Regions from separate parts of the Homo sapiens genome. Here region 2 is linked to region 1. The links are contacts of gene promoters, found by promoter capture Hi-C in human tissues and cell types (Jung and others, 2019). All regions are on one chromosome and are shown on one strand. The core of a region is centred on a gene start or on the middle of the fragment in contact, and the rest is flanking DNA. Distances in the headings are between cores, read along the strand shown.

The links. The method cuts DNA at HindIII sites, captures the fragments that hold promoters and counts their contacts. A contact is called where the count stands out against the background at its distance.
Region 2: a contact is called between a fragment that was not itself captured here and the fragment with the promoter of GRHL3 in region 1, in 4 of the 25 tissues and cell types used here (IMR-90 fibroblasts, lymphoblastoid cells, mesenchymal stem cells and 1 more).

The regions. Positions count from the first base shown.
Region 1 is chr1:24,316,754-24,324,120 of GRCh38, forward strand. It overlaps GRHL3 (grainyhead like transcription factor 3), which reads left to right and starts at 2,604. Exons shown (of 16, transcript NM_198173.3): 1 at 2,604-2,815. The coding sequence starts at 2,799. It overlaps GRHL3-AS1 (GRHL3 antisense RNA 1), which reads right to left and starts at 5,238. Exons shown (of 2, transcript NR_183722.1): 1 at 4,913-5,238. RefSeq lists a silencer at 5,137-5,276 and enhancers at 5,344-5,861, 5,862-6,377. The HindIII fragment of the contact is 14,571 bases long and covers 1,106-7,367 here.
Region 2 is chr1:24,278,082-24,285,448 of GRCh38, forward strand. No RefSeq gene overlaps it. Among named protein-coding and RNA genes, the nearest start is that of GRHL3, 38 kb to the right of the region's middle. RefSeq lists an enhancer at 370-871. The HindIII fragment of the contact is 7,226 bases long and covers 80-7,305 here.

The DNA of each region.
Region 1 (7,367 bases), core at 1,354-3,853:
GCTGTTCTGTTTTAAATCTCCTCTGCAGAGGAACCAAGAGCTGTGCTGATCCATGAAGGGGAAGTAGGTGCCAGCCTTGCTCAGCCCCACAGGAGCAGGAAGGGGGCAGCAGCAAAGCACGGGGAGTGTCTCTTTAAAGGCCTGGCATCTCTGGGTTGTTGGGATGAAGGCCTAGAAAGCACTTGTACCTCCTGCCTGGGAGGTATAATTCCTACTGAGGGGCCTGGTGACCTTGCAAACTGGCTCATGGCGTTCCTGCCTACCTAGCCCAGACCACCGGTCCTTCTATCCCATCCGGGACACTTCTGTAGCCTTCCTGTGTGTGGAGACGTAGAAACCCTCTGCCCTGTGATTTGGGTCTCTGCTGATCTCTGAAGATGGGTGCGGGTGATGAAAGAGGCAAAACCTAGAGGCAGAGGGAGAGGACCCATTTTTAAAACCCCAGCGAGCACAGACACGCCACCTGGAATCCCAGCCTCCCCTGAGCCCAGTCAGCATGAGTCACCCCACAGCCCTTCACCTGTGGGTTGCAACACGGTTGACAGAAACTCCACAGCCTTCCATGAGGTGGGCAGACAGGTACATACAGAGGAGTGTGCCATCCTTTGGACTGCAATAAGCTTTGCAGTTACAGTTGGCACCAAATAGCCCTTCAGCCACCAATAAGCTCTGTGAAGTGGTTGGGCACCCAGGCTCTGCTCTCGGATTAAATCCCAGCTCTAGCTCTACCACTGCCTAGCTCTGCAGCTTGAGTAGTTTACTTCAGTATTCTGTACCTCAGTTTCCTCATCTATAAAATGGGGGTATCAAAAATGTCTATCTCCCAGGGTTGCTGTAAGGATTAGGCGACACAATGTATGCAAAGGCGCACAATGCCCGGTGCCTGTGGTATATGAAGCACCTACTAGGTGCCAGACACTGGAGATTCCACAGTGAGCGACACAAAGTCTTTGCTCTTATGGAATTTACATTCCAGAGGAAGGGGAGAAAGACAATAAACGATTAGAAAAATATCATAGGTCATATTACATTGTATCATAAGTCATAAGGGCTCTGCAGAGAACAAAAAGTAGTGTGATCCAGAGTGATTGAATGTCTACTTTATTAACAAGGGTGACTGAAGAGGGCTGCTCTGAGGAGGTGGCTTTATTAGCAATTATTTACTATTATTTATTAGGGTCCCCTGGGCTTCCCCCAACACAGCCTCCAGGGAGAAACCAATCTCTGAGAGTTCTCAAACCCAGTACCCCCTCTCCAGAGCCCTGACCCCACCCCAAGAGGGCTCCTTTGAATTCTGACTTTACCCTGAAAAACCTCCATAAATTGGCAGGGGTAGCTGAAACCTCACTTGCCGTTCCCAGAGAAGAGAGAGAGGAGTGGGCCAAGTTGAGGTTTCCAGGAAGACACAGCAAAGAGATAATTTGCCAAAAGGGGAAGGGTGGGGGAGGGGAGAATAGAAAGAGAGAGAGGGAAAAAAAGATGCCAAGATCTCTGGCTTAGATTTAATTTCAAACTAATCCTGGAAGAAGCTCTTTAAAAAGCTCTTACATTCTCCTGTTTGTGTTTGTGGATATTCTGGGGTTTACCAAGCTTGTTCTTTATAGTAGACAGCTCACAGCAATTACTCCACAATTACTTCATCTGACAGGCATTGAATTTCTCCCAAGTTCCCAATACAGAACGAAGCACTTGGAGCCTGTGAAATGACCAGCTGGCTGAGGCTTCAGAGGAGCCTTCAACTTTTCTATCCCTTCTGTGCTGACCAGAGGTATGTGGCTTGCCCACACCCCCTTCACACCCAATAAAAGCCTGTTCTCCTTTACTCCCCCACCCCCTGCCACCAACACACACCCCCCAGATTGTAAACTCCTTTAGAACAGTAACCCCTGTTTTTTCTGGCCTCAGTTTCTCCAGAACCCAGAGTAGGGTCTGGCACACAACGGGTGCTCAATGAATGTCTACTGAATTGAGGCCACTGACTTCAGCCCAAGGGGCAGCCAGACTTGGAGTGAGATGACTGCAGATTGGATCTGGGCTGGGACCTCGCTAGCTGTGCCCTTGGGCAAGGCACTTTGCCTCTCTGGCCTCCATTTCCTCCCTCATCTGTAAAATATGTGTTGAAGAGGAAGGGGGAAGCGATAATAAATCTACCACGGTAGGTTACTTTAAGAACCAAAAGAAGTCACTTGAGTAACTGCAAAAGATTATTCAAAAATATTACCTTAAAGGGGAAACTGAAAAAAAGGGAACTTATACAAAGATCTACCTGGGAAAAGTTGCTCTCTCCTTTGAGAATTCCCCAGTGGTACAGAAGGAGGGGGCAAAGAAATTTGGGGGTGGGGATGTTTCTGGGTATCTGGGACAATGACTAGAAACAGGAATCAAGTTTTCCTTTAAGCCAAGTTATCTGTTTGTCCCTGTACTTTTCCTCTAGTTATCTTGCTTCTTTCCAACATTTTCTTCTCCATCCCTCCTCCCTCATCTCCACCCCCCACCCCCTCACCAAGGAAGGAATTGGCCAGCTCCACCCAGCCAGTCCCCCATAGCTCCGCCCTCCTCGGCGGGCTAAGAGTTAACAGCTGCACCTGTTGAGGTATACCTCCAGTCGCCGGCACCTGTACCTGTAGCCAATCAGCGCCAGCGCTGCTGGGAACCTACCTGTCAGCAAAATCTCGACACCCAAACCTCAACATAAATCAAACACTTTCCCGGGCAGAGAATGTCTGTGTCAGGCAAGAATTAGAGACAAGCGGTCAGCAGAGCCTCAGTGCTGATCGTCGGAGCTTGGGAGCAGGAAGATGTCGAATGAACTTGAGTGAGTAAACATCGGTGGATACCTGCCGCTCTCAGAGCGTGGAGGCTGGATGGGGTTTCCTGGAGGGGGAAGAGCGGGGAGGCCGGCACCGGGATTCACAGAGCAATTTGTAAGGGTAAATGAATGGGCTGACGATCTTACTTTGGCGTGTCAAGGCAAGCCCCAGTCTCAAGCTAGAGGTGAGTGTTTCCCTGGGAAAATAGTTTTTCTCATTCTCTTTGCTGAGCAGTTTCGAGCCAGGCAGGGAAACACAAGACTGAAACTGTGAAGGTTTCTGGCACCACTTTTTGATCCTCTGAAGGGGCCTTGGAAATCAGACGACCCCAATCCCATCGAGGCTTTCTATCTTCTTGCCAAAAGGAACTTCTTTAAGGTAGTTCTAAGAGCTGTCTTAGGCAGAGAGTTGGGTTTCTCTAAAGGGACTTGTTTGCTGGGTTGGAACAGTCCCAAGTGGGAAGGTTACAGTGTGGTGGTTAAGCATGTGTACTCTTTGTAGTGGGCTTGACCTAAGTTCAAATCCAGGCTCTGTCCCTGGGTGATCTCAGACAAGACATTCAATTTTTCTGGGCTTCATTTTCCTCATCTGGAAAATGGGTACAAGAATGCTTTGTAGAATTCTGGAAAGAGTTAAGTGTGATAAATGCTGTAAAATGCTTAGCATAAAGCTATGGTCTGAAGATGCGTTCAGTAAAATGTGGTTCCTCTCATTCAGAGGCAGTTCTAAGGCTGGGGAAGATGAGAAGTGATTTTTGGTAGGTCACCTCTTTTGGCTGGGAGGATGCATGTGCCTTCCTGCCCACATCTGAGATTTAAGATCCTGACTGACTGATGCTGATCTTCACCATGATGTCCTTCTTGGGGTCCAGACCTTAGAGAAGGTAGGGTGAGGCTGGGATCTGGGCTGCTTTAGATTGGGTTCAGGGAGCTGGCAGGAGAAGCCAGAATCCTTTAAACACAGGCTCTCCTTTTCCTGCCACCCTCAGAGGTGAGTGGGCAGAGGCAAGGATTGTACCATCTTTTTTCTAACTGCTCCTCAACAGACTTTTAAGAACTTGAAGATCTGTGGGCAGACAGCAGTGCTAGGTCCTGACTGCAGACCGGATTCTATGTTCTAGCTAGCCCTTCAGCTCTTCATGTTCACAGCACAATCACTTGGGTTAACAGGCACATTTCTTTTGAATGAATTTCCCGGGGTTGACAATGTATTGACAATTGGACCGCAATGAGAATAAGAGCAGGAGCATTGGTACTGACACCTGGGTTCAAGTCCCAGCTCTAGCACTTATAGCTGTGTGATGTTGAGCAAGTCCCTTAATCCTCATCTGTAAATAGTGGCCAACAGTAGTATCCACCTCATGGGGTTGTTAGAGGATTTGACAATTTTAGAATAGTGATTGCTTTTAAGGCTGGTGGAGAACACACCAGTAACACCATTGTCATTTCATGTAGAACTAACCAATCAATGAGCATTCCCAAACCTCTTGCTATTTTTCCATACTTTGAACGCGCAAAAAAATCTTGACATGTGTCTCCATCCCACTTAAATTTGCTGGCTAAAACTGCGGAGGCTACAGACAGAATCTATTCATTACTGCACGTTAGGGGGTATGTGTTCTGAAGCTGGGTTACTTGAACAGAAAGGTTTCTTGCTTTTCTCCTCCCTAATGGTTTGGATTTGAAGTCAGATCCGCTGACAGTTGAGGCTTCTCAGTTTGGGGTGGGGTGAGGGAAGCCAGTTGCCTGCTGAGTAATTGCAGGCGGACTCCAAGCCACCATTTGAGATTACAGTGGCAGAGCCTGGGGGCTCAGCTGCCCCTACTGGTAAGGGGAGGGCACCCGGCGCTTGGCTTGCAAGTTCTGAGCTGCTGTTGCTTCTGCGGCCTCGACATTCTCCTAAAAAGTGCCAAGTTAAGAGGACTGGCCATAGCTTACAGCTTGGGCCCTCATGGAATGGCCAACTCTGGCCAGGCCTTGATATAGTGGCAAAAGTGGGACTTGCCTGTCACTCTAAATTCTGCCACTTACCAACAGCAGGATCCTGGTGAATTTGTTTGTCCTCCCTGACCCTCAGTCTGCTCATCTGTCTGTAACACCTACCTGGCAGGAACAACTGTGAGCTCCCAAATGTGGACCAGAGCTCCATCCGCGCCCGCCCGGTGGCCAGGCCCCGGGTGTAAGGCGGCACTTCGAAGGCTGGTCTCTGAGAAGCATGGAGGCCCCGGCGGTGTAGTTAGAAACCAGCTGGAGGTGGCTGGCGGGTGCTGAGCGCCGGGCCTTTCATGTGGTCGCAGCGCTCTGGGTGCCTGGAGCCCGCAGCCCTGGGCAGCCCCGGGCTACCGCAGGGCGCAAGGGATCCTGGGCTGCGGCCGAGGGCGCCGGAAGTCGCCGCCGACCGCCTGGGTCTCGCAGGAAAACAGCCGGCGCCCGCGAGCTGCCCAGCGTCGGGTTTTCCTGAAGGTGCGTCGGGGCCCCCGGGGAGCTGGAGCCGCAGGCGACCTCCCCGGTGACCTGTTGTTCCCCTCTGGAGGGCCGGCCGGCGCTCCAGGCAGGCCCCGTTGACAGCCCAGGAAGGGAGAGTTTCGCCGCAAAGGGGCTTGGCACACAGTAGGTCTAAGGCACCGAGGCAGGAGCGTCCCCCGCGGCCTCGCTCCCTGCTCTCTGGGCCCCACCGCTGCCGCCTGGAGTCTCCCCTCAGCCTCGCAGAGACGCGACTCGGTTGGGGGAAGGGGACTAGAACCGTCGCAGTCCTGACCGCGGCCGCCGCCGCCGTTCTATCTGATCTCCAGGAGCGCCGGCTCCAGACTGCCTGGAGCGCTGAAAGAGTTAATCAGGAACGCCTCCCCGCTGTGGTTTTGTGGTCGAAACCATGATTGCCAGGAGCAAATTTTTGTCGTGCACGAGGTGTGTTATTAAAAGTCGGAGCTACGCTGCTGCTGAATGAAAAGTTAAAAGCCCTCTTTGAGTTCGGGCTGTAAAACTGGCGGACTGGGCCGAGAGGCTTGAGCCAACCCTAACGGCGGCGGCCCGGGCGGCGCGGGGGTCCTGCGGCTCCGCCAGCTGCTGGGAGCGGGCAGGCTGCGCAGTCCCAGCAGTGAGTGGCCGCAGCCAGGCGGTCGGCAGAGCTCCCACTGACCCACCGGAGGAGTGAAGAGGGAAAACGGGGCTGAAACCCAGATGGGATCATCCAGCTTTCTCTTACGTTAGAACAAAAATGACAGCCAACATTTATGGAGCGCTGACTCCGCATCTGACATTGTGTCGAGTGCTTGATAAATACACGCTCTTCTTTAAACCCTCCCAACAAACTAATGCGGGATGGGAGTGTAAATGCAGTTTTGCCGAAGAGGGGACCCAGACCTGGTTCAGGCTTGCCCAAGGTCTCACGGAAGCACTGGGATCTTAACCGGGTCTTAGCCGAGCAGCCATAGGCCACCCCGCTTCCTCTGTGCTTAGCCTCTGAAAAGAAGACAGAGGAGATGTGCCAAACTGTTAAGAGTGGTTATTTCTGAGCAGAAGAATGTGGATGAATTCCATTCTTCCTATTTTTCTGTAGGTTCTACATGTTATATATTTGTTGTATTTTACAAACCTATGTTACCTTTGGAGTCGTTAAGGGGAAGAGAGGGAGTCATTATTTTGAAAGAGAACACCTAGAACAGTGTTCTCAAACTGTGGTCCGTGGACCATCATCATCATCATCATCACCTGGGAACTAGTTAAAAATGCAAATTCTCAGCCCCACCCTAGACCTACTGAATCAGAAACTGGGGGTATGGCTCAGCGTTATGTGTTTTCACAGGCCCTCCAGGTGATTCTGATGCGTGTCCAAGTTGTAAAACTGTTGGCCTAGAAGACCAGGCAGAGGACTGGGAAGCAGGAGGTTCCCAAATCCACTACTGACCTGCAGTGTAGTTGCTGAGTCAGCAGGCTGAGAGCTTAGTTCCAAGATCACACCTGTGTTTTAAGCCCAGCTCTGCCACCTATAGATTGGGTGACTTGGATGAGCTCCTTAACCTAAGTGTCAGTTTTTGCCCATGTAAAATGATGATAAAAATACCCACCTCACAAGGCATGTATGAGAATAAAAAGGCACAAGGCCTGACTCTATGAAATAATTGAGTTCCTTTCCCTCTCTTGCCTTCCCTCCCCTCTCTGGAACTCAGCTTTCCTATCTAAAATGCCGCAAATAATCCTGGCTGGCTGCCTCCCCCTCTCTATTCCTTTTGCCTCCTAAAAAGGTTAGAACAACTGACCTAGTGAAAGTCTTGAAGGGAAATTATCTCTCCGTTATTTGATGGTATTTCTCTAGGCTTTTCCAGGAGGTCAGCAAGAATTGGGAACTTTCAAGGGCAGGGACCGAAAGGGGACAGAACAGTGTAGCCACATGAATGGCAGTGGCCTTCACCTTTTTTGTCCTCAGCACCCAGTACGTGGCCATTTACAGAGTAATCCTCAGTGAATGTTTGTTGAGTGAATCAGTGAGTGAATAAATGAAGGGATGTGGCACCCCCGGGTTTACAGGTGGATTTCAACTTCTTTCACACCTCAGTTG
Region 2 (7,367 bases), core at 2,443-4,942, 38 kb before region 1:
GAGGGTGGATCCAGGAGTTCGAGACCAACCTGGGCAACATCATGAGACCTCATCTCTACCAAAAATAAAAAAAAACTAGCTGGGCATGGTGGCACGTGCCTGTAGTCCCAACTATTTGGGAGGCTGAGACAGTGGAATCAATAGAGCCCAGGAGTTCAAGGCAGCAGTGAGCTGTGATCAGGCCACTGCACTTCAGCCTGGGCAATGGGAATAAGACACTGTCTCAAAAAAAAAAAAAAGAAAAAAAGATTGGGGGCCCTTCAAAGTCACCCAAGCTGGGCTAAAACCATGGATTCCGGGGCAGGTTACATCATCTTTCTAAACCTCACTTTCCTCATCTGAGAAATGGGATAATAACAGTCCAAATGTGACAATGGGTGTAATGCTTTGGCATGCTGCCCGGCAATTAAGCCCTTAGCTACTATTCTCTCTAATGTATGTTTACTGGCTGCCCACTTGGTCCTAAGCACCTGTCCCTCTTGGGCAGGAGTGGGCTGATTCTCCAGCTGAGGAGTCCTGGGCTGGGGTCAAGGGTCTCCATTTGAGGATCCTTGGCTTATAGACCATCTGGTCCATGGCTGACACACATACCACACTAGAATGACCAGCTGCCCCCAGGAAAGCGAGCCTGGGTCCTGGCAGAGTGGGTGGGTGGAAGACAAGCTGTCTCAAAGCTCAGAAATGAGCACGTCCTAATGCCTCTGAGCTTGGCAGTCACCTTTGGGAAGCTGATACCCACCTTCAGGGCCAGACACCCAGTCCCAAGTCCTGGCCTGAGGGCCAGGGGAAGCTCTGGTCTTGCCAGCATCCCAAGCAGTCGCTTTGTGCCTGAACAGAGCTTCCTTTGTGTGGTGGCAGCAGCAGATAACTGCTCCTGGGTGGCAGGTTACTCACTGAAGTGCAATCCCTGATTTACTAACTGGAGCAATTGCTAGGCTGTGCCAGCAAGGCTACCGTGTTGGCCTCCAGGGGCAGGTGCCACAAGGGCTGTCACTGTATCCTGGGGAGGACCCCAGAGCCTCTATTCCAAGATGTCCAAGCTACATCCATTGACCCCATAGTGGGGTTTGGAACTTCAAGAAGGGGCTGGGCGCGGTGGCTCATGCCTGTAATCCCAGCACTTTGGGAGGCTGAGGCAGGTGGATCATTTGAGGTCAGGAGTTCAAGACCAGCCTGGCCAACACAGTGAAACCCCGTCTCCACTAAAACATACAAAAATTAGCCGGGCAGTAGTGGCACATGCCTATAATCCCAGGTACTTGGGAGGCTGAAGCAGGAGAATTACTTGAGCCTGGAAGATGGAGGTTGCAGTGAGCTGAGATCGAGCCACTGCACTCCAGTCTGGGCAACAGAGTGAGACCTTGTCTCAAAAAACAAAACAAAAAAAAAAACAAAAAAAACACAAAAAACACAAGAAGGTCCTTAGAAAACCCTGGACATCTTCAAGCTAATGGATCTAAAGTTTTTCTGGTGCTAACGGCAACCCCGCCCAGCAGGAATTATCATCTGTACTTTGTAGATGAGGAAACTGAGGCTCAGAGAAGTTGAAGTTAAGCAAGTGGCCCAAAGGACCTCAGCCAATCCAAAAGCCTTTCTTGCTGCCCAGTCCTGACATCCCTGGTGGTGGTGAAAACAGGGGAAGCCTGAGGGTACTGATTAATCACCACCGTTTAATCTCGTTGAAAGCAGTTATTAAGTTGGTGCAAAAGTAATTGCGGTTCTTGCCATTACTTTTAATGGCAAAAACTCGTCAACTTTTGCACCAACCTAATACCATGTGGCAGGCACAGGGTCAAGCAATGAGTGTGTATGGTCTCCTTCCATCTCAACATCACCTCCCCTGAGAGAGATGTCATTATTCCTCCTAACAGAGGAGAAAACTGAGACCCATGGAGGTTACTTGTGTGATCCCACAGCTGCTAAGTGGCAGAACCAGAATTTGAACCCACATTTCTCTGTGAGTAAGACAGATGGTGAATTATTACCAAATATTGATTGAAGCAGGAGTTGGTAACATGACAAGTCTTTTAAAACCCAGTTTTATTAAGTACAATACACATATGTACAGAAAAGTGTAATATACATTATAGAAAAGTGCACCAATCATGAATTTTCACAATCTGAACACCGCCATCCATACCTAGGTGCAAAAGCAGAACTTTCCCAGTAACACACACCCCCTCACTCCCCTGTCCTGACCATTATCCTGACTTCTAATCTCATCAGTTCATTTTGTCCTTTAGCTAAATGAAATCACACATCGTGTGTCCTTTTGTGCCTGGCTTCTTTCATAATTATGTTTGTGTACAGGAAGCCTGTTTTTCAATGTTTTATTATGAAAGTTTTCAAACATCACAGCAAAAGTTGAAAGCATTTTATAGTGAATATCCTTAAACTCACCATTTAAATTCTATGAATGTTGTACTGTACTTGCTTTTCTTTCACATAAAGCCATCCCTCTAGACATTCATTAATGCTTCGACTTCATTATAAATTTTAAAGTAAATTGCAGACATCAATACAATTTCCTTAACTACTTCAGCATGCACATATATTTGCTCACAACTTTTATCCTTTTGATGTAAAATTTATATATGATGAAATGCACAAGTGCTTTTTATTGAGTTTTCATAAATGCATACACCTGTGATCCCAAACCCTCTCAAAATAAAGAATATTCCCCTCACTCCAGGAAGTTCCCTCATGCCCCTTCCCAGTCAATACTCTCCCCTCCAGCACACTAGGCAACCCACTGTACCAATATTTTTCCACAGTAGATTGGTTTTGCCTGTCCTGAAAATTCATATAAATGGAATGATACCTTATATAATCTCTCATGTAAGGCTTTTTTCATTCAATGTAGTGTTTTGAGATTCATCCATGTTGTTCCTGCATATCATTAATTCATTCCTTTTTATTAATGGGGAGTATTCTTTTGTAGGCCTATACTGCGGTTCGTTTGTCCATTTTCCTATTGATGGACACCCGGGCTGTTGACAATTTGGGGCTATTATGAGAAAGGTGCTATGTGCACTCTTCTACAAGGCTTTTTGTGAATTTGTGTTTTCATTTCTTTTGAGTAAATACTTAGGAGTACAACGACTGGGTCACAGGGTAGGTGTATGTTTTATTTTACAAAAAAATGACAGATCTTTTTCCAAGGTGGTGGTACCATTTTATTGCACCACCAACAATGTATCACTTTGTCACCAACAATGAATGAGAGTTCCAGTTGCTCCACAGCCTCATCAACATTTGGTCTAATTTTATTTTATTTTATTTTATTTTTGAGACAGAGTCTTGCTCTGTCACCCAGGCTGGAGTGCAGTGGCACGATTTCAGCTCACTGCAACCTCCACCTCCCAAGCTCAAGTGATCCTCCCACCTCAGCCTCCCAAGTAGCTGGGTCTACAGGCATGTGTGGCCATGCTGGGCTAAATTTTTGTATTTTTTGCAGAGACGGGGTTTCACTATATTGCCCAGGCTGGTCTCGAACTTCTGAGCTCAAATGATCCACCCCACTTCAGCCTCCCAAAGTGCTGGGACTACAGGCATGAGCTACCACACCTGGCTGGTATTGTCCATCTTTTTAATGTTTCTGGTAGGTATGTAGTAGCAGCTCACTGTGGTTTTAATTCACATTTTTATGAAAAAGCACCTCTTTCTCCAGATGGATACAGTTCCTTGCCAAGACTCACCGCTTAGCAAGCAGAGCACAGCCTGCCCAACGATCCATGGTGGCTGTGCTTCAGGTCTCCATTGTGCCTACTGGGCAAGATGAACAGGAGCCAGCCCTTGAAGTACTATCTTTATTTTAAAGAAAAATAGCATCTATAGTGGTTGAGAGTGGCCTCTGCAGTTAGATTGTCTGGGTTCAGACCCCAGCCTCACCACATACCAGCTGTGTGACAATGGACAAATTACTTCCCATTTCTAAGTCTTCATTCCCTCACATCTACTCATAAGTTTGTGGTGAAGATTAAATAAGATGGAACATGTAACATACCTAGCACAGAAAACACTAGTAAACATTAGTTGTTTTGTTATTGTTCTATCTGAGTAGAAAAGTTACATACAATTATCATAGAAAATGAAGAAAAGTAGAAAGAAGCTTAAAGTTACCATAACCCTGACATCCAAAGATAACTGTTATTAATATTTGGTGCATTTTTCTAGTATTTCTATATAGGATTAAAAATTTTTTTTTAATTTTTTTTTTCCACAGTCTCACTCTGTCACCTGGGCAGGAGTGCAGTGGCATGATTTTGGCTCACTGCAGCCTCAACCCCTTAGGTTCAAGCAATCCTCCTGCCTCAGACTACTGAGTAGCTGGGACCATAGGCACACACCACCATGCCCGGCTAATTTTTTCATTTTTTTGTGGAGATGGGGGGGGTCTCACTTTGTTGCCCAGGCTGGTCTGAAACTCCTGGGCTCAAGCTATTCCCCCACCTTGGCCTCCCAAAGTGTTGGGATTACAGTCGTGAACCACTGTACCCAGCCTGGAATTGTTTAAAAACACCAATGGCATCATACTCTGTATACAATTTCATACCCTCCTTTCTATATTTAACTCTATGTCATTAACATTTTCTCATGTCATTGCATGTTCTTCAAAACTCCACTCCTAAAGGCTGTGGAATGTTCCAGCAACAGGTGCTGCACTGTGTCAGGTGATAAAGCAGTGGGTTGAAGATCAGTGATTCCAGAAACAGTCTTGTATCCTCTTGACTACATGTGATTATTCCCTTAGGATATTTTTAAAGCCTTTGATAAACATTATCAATTTGGAGCACCAGATCAAAACCACATCTTTTCACTTTTTCCTAAATATAAAATTAATGCAGGTTATGAAAAGAAGAAATAATACATGATTGTGAAGAATAGAAAGTGAAAGCCCCCCTCCCTCCCCAATAATCTCACTAGTAAAGAAAAATCACTTTGATGTACATGCTTCCAGACCTTCTATTCCATACATATGCAACAGTAGATATAAGTATACTAACCCAAGAGTAGAAGGGGATGCTGGAGTCTGCCTGTGCCTGGTTCAAGTTCTGACTCTGCTGTGTATTCACTGTGTGACCTGGGGCGAGTTAATTCACCTCACTGTGCCCTGTTTTTAAAAATCGCTTCATTTGTTTCTGGAGTTATTTTTCAAATATCTCCAGGTTCCTCAACATTCTCAACCCTGAATGGATACTGGAGAGTCTGCTGGAGTCTGTACCTGAAACTGGGCCAGGGATGCCTTAGCCGTTTGGACCAGACATTCCTCCCATGCTGCTGCCCTGGAGGTCCCTGGACCACAGGCGAGGTTGAGGTTCCCCAGCTTTGCAGCAAGTAAACATTGATTCACCTGGGCACCCGGGGTAATTGTACAAATTGCCCATGCAGATGGGTGCCTCATGCCTGGTTACCCAATGCTTACTCAGGTAGGTGTGGTTACCCAGAGACAGGTGGGTGCCCACGCCTCACCTACTACTTGGAGGCCCCAGTCATAGTCATCATATCAGGGAGTATGGGGGATGCCATTTGGGGCCTCCTCAAAAAAGATGCCACCTGCTCTAGCCCAGGAAGTCAAGCTATGGTTGCTCACCTTGGGACAGTAGGGACAGCTTGCTGGGCTTGTAAATAAATGTGGAGCAAATCACAGTGAATGACCCGCACCTCACTTAGGCCTTCACCAGGCATTGCCAAATGCTGCCTTCTCTTTACTCGCCCAGGAGCCCAGGCACATTGGTGTCTTCATTATTTCCGAGTGGACCTTATTCAATAACCCAGGGAAAATCAACAATGTGATTAATTAAAATCTTAAGACACACTCTGTTTTGTTATCTGTGGACTCTACTGAGCTACTTCCTCCAGGAAGAAGGAATTGGCCCACTTGTTGGGTTTATTTATTTACTTATCTACATGCATCTGGACAGTTTTGCGTTGTGATTCATTCTGGGAAAGCTATATCAGATGGGACCACATCCAAGGAGGAACCGGGTTGGGAAAGGATGCTGGAATCCCGGAATTGCCTTCCCAGTCACCTCAGAATCAGGATTATGCTCTTTTTTAATGCTTTCTCCTTCACAATGAGTTTCCCCCCCAGAAACCTCATTAACCCTGAAACTTTTTGAACATTTTCCACAGGTAAGGGAGGCTGGTCTTCTGGACTCGGCTGAGTCCTGGGTGACTCAGGCTGAGTCCTCAGGAAAACCCCAGGGGCTCAGGATGCAACCTGCTGAGTCCCAGGCCGGTGGCCGAACCTCCTCAAGCCTCGTCTTCTCATCAGCAAAATTAAAAGTTCCCTCTTAGGGTGTTGCAGGTTTCAATAGAATCACACCGCGGATCAGGCTCGCTTCGGGGCCATTGCACATGCTGTTCCCTTTTTCTGAGACACAATTCCTCTCTTCCCATCACCACTCCAGCCTCTCAACTTGGTTGACACCAACCATCCTTCCAGCCGTAGTTTAAATATCATTTCTGGCTGGGTGCCCTGGCTCATGCTTGTAATCCCGGCACTTTGGGAGGCCAAGGTGGGCAGATTGCTTGAGTCCAGGAGTTCAAGGCCAGCCTGGGCAACACAGACCCTGTCTCTACAGAAGTAAACAAAATTAGCCCAGTGTGGTGGTGTGTGCCTGTGGTCCCAGCTACTCAGGAGGCTGAGGTGGGAGGATTGCTTGAGACCGGGAGGTTAAGGCTACTGTGAGCTGTAACCATGCCATTGTACTCCAGCCTGGGTGACAGAGCACGACCCTGTCTCAAAATTAAATAAATAAATAAATATTATTTCTTCAGAGAGTACCTCAGCCCAGCTCAGGTGCCCAGTTCAAAGCACCCACCTCAGCCCAGTTCAAAGCACACACAGTCCCTTGAATTTTCCTTCTCAGCCTCATCACATCTGTAATTTAAGTAACTCTTTGTTTAACATCTGCCTCCTTGGCCCAGCCCAGGAGCCCCATGGGGGAGGGCTGGGTCTCTGTTGCTCACCCCTCCATCCCGCTCCTCATGCAGGTCTGGCACTTAGTGGGCACTTGGGAAACACGAGTGACCCTTTCAGAACCCAGGAGATGGCCTGTGGATCTGGAACCTCCAGCACCCACGTGAGGCCCTTTGACTTGGCCTCTTGCCAATAAGGTTTGGGCCAAGGCCATGGAGACAGTGGCAGAAGCCTTGGCGTTCAAGCTGTACCCCCCTAGAAATTGGGGTTCAGTCAGTTCCCCAATTCTGTGGTTAGATTAAGGGTGGGCAGGCCCAGACAAGCCTGTTCTGGAGCAGAGGCCACTGGGGCAGGCAAACCCTGAGCCTCACCCACGCTGCTCTGTCTCCGGAGCACACGCAGGCTGCTACATGCCTAAGGAGATGTGGCAGCTGCTCCCCAA